Regions from separate parts of the Homo sapiens genome. Here regions 2 and 3 are each linked to region 1. The links are contacts of gene promoters, found by promoter capture Hi-C in blood cells and fetal thymus (Javierre and others, 2016). All regions are on one chromosome and are shown on one strand. The core of a region is centred on a gene start or on the middle of the fragment in contact, and the rest is flanking DNA. Distances in the headings are between cores, read along the strand shown.

What was found. The method cuts DNA at HindIII sites, captures the fragments that hold promoters and counts their contacts. A CHiCAGO score of 5 or more calls a contact.
Region 2: a contact is called between the fragment with the promoter of MTDH here and a fragment that was not itself captured in region 1, in 2 of 17 cell types (fetal thymus and naive CD8 T cells). The highest score is 6.6, in fetal thymus.
Region 3: a contact is called between the fragment with the promoter of PLEKHF2 here and a fragment that was not itself captured in region 1, in 1 of 17 cell types (non-activated CD4 T cells). The highest score is 6.6, in non-activated CD4 T cells.

What each region holds. Positions count from the first base shown.
Region 1 is chr8:109,535,934-109,538,633 of GRCh38, reverse strand. PKHD1L1 (PKHD1 like 1) reads right to left here. Exons shown (of 78, transcript NM_177531.6): 78 at 1,427-2,700. Among named protein-coding and RNA genes, the nearest start is that of EBAG9UORF, 2.4 kb to the left of the region's middle. The HindIII fragment of the contact is 518 bases long and covers 1,005-1,522 here.
Region 2 is chr8:97,642,932-97,645,763 of GRCh38, reverse strand. It overlaps MTDH (metadherin), which reads right to left and starts at 1,580. Exons shown (of 12, transcript NM_178812.4): 1 at 877-1,580. The coding sequence starts at 1,257. RefSeq lists silencers at 451-619, 903-972, 1,243-1,702, 1,883-1,992 and enhancers at 1-749, 750-1,730. The HindIII fragment of the contact is 3,502 bases long and covers 1-2,365 here.
Region 3 is chr8:95,132,419-95,135,200 of GRCh38, reverse strand. PLEKHF2 (pleckstrin homology and FYVE domain containing 2) reads right to left here and starts at 1,416. Exons shown (of 2, transcript NM_024613.4): 1 at 1,171-1,416. RefSeq lists silencers at 855-1,014, 1,035-1,674. The HindIII fragment of the contact is 9,547 bases long and covers 24-2,782 here.

The sequences.
Region 1 (2,700 bases), core at 14-2,513:
ATAGTGCCTACTTCATGCAGTAGTAATGCTTGCAAAGCTCTCTTAGCACAGAGCCTGGCACATAGCAAACATTCATAGATAACAGTTGTTGCTGCAGCTACTACTACTACTGCATTACTATTGCATTACTACAGTATCATTTCCGGTAATTGCATTTCCCAAAGGCCATGCAACCCCTTTCAGTCCCTTAAACACCTGCTCTAACTTTAATCTCTAGAATTCTAATGCCTAAATTTCAATATAAAATTTCTAAATTTTTTTTGGATTTAAAAAATCGAGTTATCTAGCTGGGCACGGTAACTCATGCCTGTAATCTCAGCACTTTGGGAGGCCGAGGCAGGAGGAACGCTTGAGCCCAGGAATTTAAGACCAGCCCAGGCAACGGGCGAAACTCCGTTTCTACAAATAATTTAAAAATTAGCCAGGTTTGGTGGCGCATGCCTGTAGTCCCAGCTACTCAGAAGGCTGAGGTGGGAAGAATCACCTGAGCCTGGGAGGTCGAGACTACAGTGAGCCATGATTGGGCCCTGCACTCCAGCCTGGGAGACAGAGCAGGACCCTGACTCAAAAAAAAAAAAAAAAAAAATCCAAAATAACCTATATTCGGATATAAACGTGTTTAAATTTTTTTTCTTAAAGAGTTGATTGCTTTAGACAATTTATTATGCCCAAGGATATTTTCTTCTTTTTCCTGATTCTTCAGTTTTCTTTATTAAATTTGCCATTTCCAAATGAAACAAAACGAAATGTATATACTTTTCCAGAAACAGCTAGTTACTGAGTACTTGTTTCCCAACACAATAGCAAAACAGAAAACAAAGCTCGCTAAAGACTGCAAATTTAAAATTTACTTTAGTAATACCTATAAAATAATATTTTAAAATCATCTTTACTTGTTAAATAGTAAGCCCATAATTGGGATCACAAGTCAATAATTTGGGATTGGGTTTAGGGACCACCTCTTGGGAACAGGGAACTTTAAGTCCTGTCCTCTCCCCAAAGCTTGTGTGGGACGGGGGTAGGAAACCACCAGATGTCAAATGGGAGGAACATAAGGGATAGAACCTGGCATATGAATTTCTTTTACTCAATGGAATATAGTAAATTCTGTCTGCTCTGTGTCCAAACCATTTTGCTCACTTTAACGCTTCTGATCAGCCTCTGCCCAATTACCAGCTTGATTTATTCACACTATCAACCTCCAGCCCACCACTTACTCTCCCCTTTCAAAGCCTACATAGGCTTTGTTCTGACTTCTCCAGCTGGGGCTAACTCTGGCCTTGTCACCTGACCTGGCCCAGGAGGTAGGAGCAGACTGCAAACACAGCCCTCTGCTTCCAGATCTTTCCCAACCCAGTTCCCTGGCTTTTCATCAAAGGGTGGGTTTTTTTTCCCTCAAACACAATTTTAGACCTGCTGTTCTGACTTGGACTTTAATGGCTTTTTATTAATGAGCAGCTGTTCACAGTTGAATACAAGATCATAAAGTCACATTCATTTCTTGATCAAGTAAAACAAAGCTTTGCCGCACATAGAGTGACATCTTTGAGCAGATACATTTGAAAGCATAGGATTTTCTGATGAGAATTTTAATGAATTGTTTTATTAATCTTCCTACTGGAGAATTTTACTTGCTTTCAAAATAATAAACATTAATATTCTGGAAAATTATAACTTCTTTTTTAATACTCAAAATCACCATATACTAGTTAGGGTCAATTGCCTAATAGAGAAATCAAACAGTCTGAAGCAGATTTTTTATTTCTTTTCTATTAAATGAAAATTAACTTTCTATGAAGCATTTAAATAAATTTTTCCTCATAATTGTTATTACAATTAGCAGTAACTTTTATTGCTAAATACAGGAAGATTCAAAATTTAGTAACAATTTAGAGTTAACCAGTTTTCTTCAGAAGGGGCCTGGTTAGAAATCAAGAAAAATAATACATATATTTTAGTAGAAATAAATTCAAATGAAAAGATGAGGTGAATTCTCATTTTGTGTTCAGTGGTGAGGTTCAGCCACATCATACTTCTGGCTAATGTCCACATCGTTATTAGATTTATGACAGAGTTCAGCTATATTATGAATTAAGTAGAGTTGATGGGAACAGCATCTGGCAGTCTAAGACCTTTTGTTATTTCTAACAGTAAATGTATTGAAATTCATACAACCAACATAAAACAGTAGTTTGTAAATCTATCTTGTACATGGATTGAGAAAGTAGAAATAAAACAACATGAAACAATGTGAGACTCATTCATTGAGCTACAGCATGATGGACATCGTGACTTTGACCTTGAACAACTTTAAGCCTCAGTTTTCTCATCTGCAAAATTAGGTTAGTAATTCCTGCTTTACGGATTTATTTTGCAAATTAAATATCATACCATATGTGGAAATGTGTTGGAAACACAGCAATAAAATCGGTGAAACCTTTGAAGCAGGCAGATTTGTTATCTTCAAGATCAGTACAATCCCCTTTAGCTCACAACATGGAATAGTGCTTCCAAGAAATAGAGGTGAATTTTATGTCATCAGCAACCAGAAGTAGACATGTCTACTAGCAATATATTAACAAAGGGAAACAGGGAGGGACAGCCAGAAGTCAACCCTCCATACCCCCGCTTCTACCTTCTTTGTTCCCTTCTTTGTTCCCTTTGTTTTAAAGGCATAGGATGAAAGAGCAGCTGTCAGAA
Region 2 (2,832 bases), core at 331-2,830, about 12 Mb after region 1:
AACCATGGGAATGGCAATAAAGAATGTAAACGTAAAACATGAAGGCCTAAGACAGACGTGATGCCCTCTGCAACTTCCACACGTGGCCCAGTAAATCGGTGCCTGAATTCCTCTCTCGGCTTTCACCATTCTGCCCTGTCATCTCCCTTTACTCTATTTCACAAATCTACCACGCCACAGAGTGTGCAACAGACTCGTTCGTTGAACTCGCCTTAGCTCTTTCTCACAGGACCATACACCTCAAAGCGTATTAGGTAACCGACCCCCTCTTGCCTTGCTCCCGTTCCGGCCTCTGTTGGCCACATTTGCCAGAACAAGAATGGGCAACCATTTCCCTTTAACAGTCCCAACTAAAATGGAAGCGCGTCTAGACCTGGACACCTTTAATCCTGTGTAAGCCCCAGAATTTCTAGGTCACCGCACTTCTTCCACTGCCTACTGTCTCAATGTGACTTGAGATAGACATCTGTCTTCCGAGCGCAGTCTTTATACAACTTCCTAACACCACCTTAAGGTCCCATTACGCTCCACATGCAGCCTACTCTGCAGGCCTCAAGGAAGGATGCTGTGCTTATTCTAGCGGTGACGGTTCCCAAAGATGGCTTGACCTCTGGGCGCCTATCTGAACGGACCCCCAGACCTCCTAACTTCCTTCCTCGAAACTGGGCTTCCCCACTCGTCCTATACTTCCTGAGTTCCCCCCATTCCCCAAATAACATGACCACCTATCACCTCCTCCTCCACTTGGGAGTGCTGCCTCTCGGCTTTCGACTAAGCACTCTTTTCCTTCCCGGCTGGGGCGCGGCCTCCCCCAAGCTCGAGGGTCTCCACGCCCGCCCTTCGCCCGTTCTCTACTGCCGCTCATCCCATACTCACTTTGGGCTTCTCGGACAGTTTCTTCCGGTTCTTCTTCTTCTGTTCCTCGCTCCGGAGATTCTTCAGCAAGGCCAGGTCGTCGGGGGCCGCGGCCGGCACGGCCGCCGCCTCCTCCCGCTTGCGGGGCGGGCTCCTCCGCTTTTTGCGGGCGCCGGCGCAAGCCGCGGCCCAGCCGTAGCCCAGCAGAAACAGCAGCAGCAGCCCGAGCGCGCCAGTGCCCACCAGGATCACCCAGCCGGGGTACCGTTTCGGCTCCAGCCCCAGGTCGAGGCCCAGCTCGGTGCGCAGAAAGCCTAGGCCGACCGAGAGCATTTCCCGCAGCCGGGCCGAGCCCTCCTCGGCCTGCTGGGCCAGCTCGTCCTGCCAGCTCCGTGCAGCCATCTTCCCTCCCGTCAGAGGGACTCGCAGGATGACGCCGGGGCGCGGAGACGCAGTGGAATAGTCGAGGGAAGCGAGGAAGGGCCGGGCCGGGTAACCTCAGGCCGAGCGCATCGCGGCCGTCCCTCGCGCCGGAGCCGGGGATCGGCCGCTGCCACCGCGGGGAGGGCGGAGGGGTCTCCCAGGTTCCCCGCTGTCAGCCTCACTCCGCCGCCGCCAGGAGACCCGGGAGGCGGGAGGGAGTGTCTCCAGTGGCGGCCGCTAAGCGGCGTCTCGGCGCCAGCGCCAGGCCCCGCTGTCCTCCCTCGGCGGAACAATGGCGGCTTGGGCCGCGATCCACGCCGCGCGCGGGGACGACCGTGGGTCACGTGGGCGCCAGTGGGCGGGGCGTGGGCGTCACGTGGGGGCGGGCGGGGTCGGGTGGGGCAAAGGCGTGTCAGGGAAGGTTGGCGGTGGTCGGTTCGGGCCTGGTTAAGACGCGGCGTTGGGGACCCGTTACTGTAGACCAGAAGCTGGGAGGGGTTAATTGGTGGACGCCTTCGCGGGGTGGCTGGTGGCGCAGAGTTAGGAGACGTGGCGCAACGAATGAGTACAGAGGAGGGGCTCCGTGCAAGGCGGGGGCGGGCGGGGGGCGGGTAGGGCTGCAGCGCTAGGAACCGGGTCACCGGGTCTAGGTCAAAGTCGCCCTGGCAGGTATAGGGCTCTTCATGCCTTTTTCTGGAGTGTTATTGAGGTGGAATCGCTTTTTCTCCCTGGTGGCGCCAGTTGGATCCTTCCAGAATGAGCTCAACGGAGTCTGACGCCGAACACTGTTCTTCCGGGACCTAGGTTTAGTTCACAAATTGGGTATTTCTCTCCAGGGTGTTTCTCTCCAGGGCAACTAATACACTGCGTGCCTACCAGTTGCCAGCCTGGCGAGGGCACGTTTGCGTCGTTTGGCTCATTCACTCTTGCTCTCTGTTGTTAGTCCCCAGAATTCAAAAGTTGGAAAGCCCGTGGGCGGCACTATTCTTTTCCTACTAATTTGTAGCTTTAATAACACATAAGGGGAAGCACATTAGATTGTATTTACTTATGGAGGGAGCTTTCTCGTTACGTTTTATTTTAAGCTTTTCTACAACACTGCAAAAGGGGTTTGCAAAAATTCCATTTTTATATGCTATGTTGACCATCTCTGGGATGCAGCTATAGAAGGAAACGAACTGCCTTTTCAAATTTTTTTTTTTTGAGACAAGAGTCTCGCTCTGTCGCCCGGGCTGGAGTGCAGTGGCACTATCTCCGCTCACTGCAAGGTCCGCCTCCTGGGTTCAAGCCATTCTCCTGCCTCAGCCTCCCGAGCAGCTGGGACTATAGGCACCCACCACCACGCCCGGCTAATTTTTTGTATTTTTAGTAGAGACGGGGTTTCACCGTGTTAGCCAGGATGGTCTTGATCTCCTGACCTCGTGATCCGCCCACCTCAGCCTCCCAAAGTGCTGGGATTACAGGCGTGAGCCACCACGCCAGGCCTTCAGGTTTTAATTATAAGGGAAATGCTTGAAGGCTGCCTTAGGGTTTTAAGATTATATTTTGCTATAA
Region 3 (2,782 bases), core at 167-2,666, about 14 Mb after region 1:
GCTGAATATTTTCTTCTGAAGCTTAGTCACTATACTAGTTTTATTTAGAGGCCGATTACGTGTGCTTTCCAAATAAATAGCTTAATACCATTCATTCCCCGTGTGGTCGGGACCCAAAGAGATTATAATGAAGCCTTCGTTAATACTGAATTAACGTGAAGACCCCACGAGCTGCCAGAGTATTTAAAAAAAGTAAATGCTCAAAACGCGGTAGGCATTCACCCTTAAGAAACTAAAGGGAGGGGAAAAAAACTTCAAACTGTCAAGATCACTTCTTATTCTTAAGAGAACACATGCCTTTAAGACTCTCAAAGTTTCTGTCTAAATCTTTCTTTAATGAGTCTCTTCAGCAACGTACTACACAACACGACAAAGAAGGCATTTATCAACAACGCGTTTTGTGAGTCTATGAATTACCGAGGAGGGCTTAGGTGTCTGTAACCTTCATACCCACTTCCACCGCACACTCAAGTTATTGCTGGAATGTACGGAGAGCACACAAGGCTATTCAAGCAACACCGGCAGCGCGCTCTCGGCCTTCAATCACATTTTTAAAAAGAAAAATAAATTCGTCAAAGGATCATAAAACTTGAAAAGGCTCCAAATAAATAAACCATCGCTTCTATCAGAGCAAGTTCTGCGGGGCCATTTTCGTCTCCCAAGTGACATACAAATATGTAGTTCAGGTCATAAGGTCCCCGACACGCAGACCCTGCAAACTTTTCGGCCAGAAATTTGTCGCGACCCTGAGACGCCCCCGGCCGTGTCCAGGACCCCCGTCCTCAGGCCCCACAACTTCTCGCCCGGCCTCGGGGCTCCTTCCCGCGTCCGCCGGCCCCCGCCCCGCAGACCCGTGGACCGGACCCTACCCGGCGGCCCCCGTCCCCCCGCGGCGGCGGCGGCGTCCTACGGGCGGGCGCGGCTCGCTCCCGGGCTGGCGGGACGGCGGCGGCAACTGGCCCGCGGGCCGGCCCCGGCGCGAGGGGAGCGGCCGGGAGCGCCCCGTTTCTCACAGACCCCAACATGGCGTCGGCCGCCACCGCCCGCGACGACGACACCTCCCGGCGCTGCGACGGCTCCGGGACCGCGGGAGGAAGCGCCCGGAAAGTTTCGCGTCTCCCCTCCCGGCCCGTCAGGAGCCGGCGGACCACCCACCCGGGCTTCACCTACCCCGACGGCCGCGGGCGGCGGCGGCGGCGACAGCGAAGGCGAAGGTCCGATCCTCCTGGTCGCGGACGCAGGGCGCGGACTCTGCCCGTTCCCCGCCGGGGCCTTCCAGGGTGTGTGCTGTCCGCAGCCCCGCGCAGCCGGCGCGATCCAGACGCGGTGGGCGGGCTGGCCGCCAGCGCAGCCGCTCGCAGGTGACTCCCCCGCCCCTCCAGTCGAACCCGACAACGGCTGCCTGGGCTGGCCTCTCCCCTGCGCGCGCACGGGCGCGCCCCCGTCCACACTCCGGGCGCGAGCGCGCGGGCACGAGCACACCCACACCCCTCGCTCCCCGCCCTTTCTTGCCAGTTCCCTCGCCCCGCCCCTCGCGCCCCTCGCGACGCGCTCTAGGGGCGGGGCCTTTGGCGGAGGCCACACCCACTCAGGCCGGCCGCGGGCGGAGCTTGTCCATGTGTGAGGTCGGGACGCGCTCCCGCGACGCGTTGAGGTGCACGTGAGGCGCCTTACCTGACTTTCCTGACTCCGACCAGCCCTTAGAAAGTATTGCTCAACTGTCTACGAAGTTCTTAGGGAGACTGGAATAATAGAAGGAAGACACCTCCCCACCCACAACAGGCCTCCCCGGGGAACTGAAGAACGAGAAAGGCAGGCTTTGGATCTAAATGCCCAAAGGCATCGGTACTGGCATTTGCTGCTCCCATTTAGCACAGCAATCCTTTCCGTCACACTTTCCCTTTGCTTTACCTAAAATCCCTCCTCTTGAAACCAAGGGAACTGCGGCGACACACACATACCCTACGTGCTCCACCCAGCCCTTTCTTTTAAATGCATACTTTAGAATTCTGGTCTTCCCAAAACTTTGACGACACAAAACCCCATCAGCCTACTTCACATACCTAGAAACTGTAATTATTGCATAGTATATAAGGTTAAATGTGCCCTAATTGATCTGATAGCTAAGCGCTCTGATGGGTTCGTAGAGAGGTAACGAAGTTGCTTAGGGTAGACTAGGGATGGGGGCGAAGTAGGGAGAACAGCATACTTATTTTAAACAAAGTGTGTGTGGTGTGTAGGAGGAAATTGGGTTTTGGTAAATTTTATATTTCTTATTCATCTATTACTTCAGTAAGTTGTTTTAACCTGTGTTTGATTGCTGTTGAATTAGAGTCACTACCAGCCAAGCTGCACGTGGATGAGCACCTAGGGATGAGAGCAGACTTGGGTTCCGCCCTGCTCTTCCACCTGGGATCTTCCTCCTCCAGGCTTGTTGCCTCCTATCCTCCCCTATTTCAATAGAGTTTGTCTCTGAAACAAACAAGTCTTTTTTTAAATTAATAATTAGAACAAAATTGGCAAAGATGAACTTTTTTTAAATGGGGAAAATTGTATGATCACACACACACAATCTTTCGTGTGTTAGAGTTGTCTCTAGATGAGTACAGATGTCACCAGGACGCTTGTCCGTACCATCACTCTACCTCATTCACCTCTACGTGCACAGCAATATCTATCAGTGGGGAAAAGGCAGGACTAAATAATGCCTAAAATCCTTTTAAATTTTGAAAGTAGGAATTGCTATGTCTGACTGGTTGTCTAAGGTCAAGCCTAGAGCATT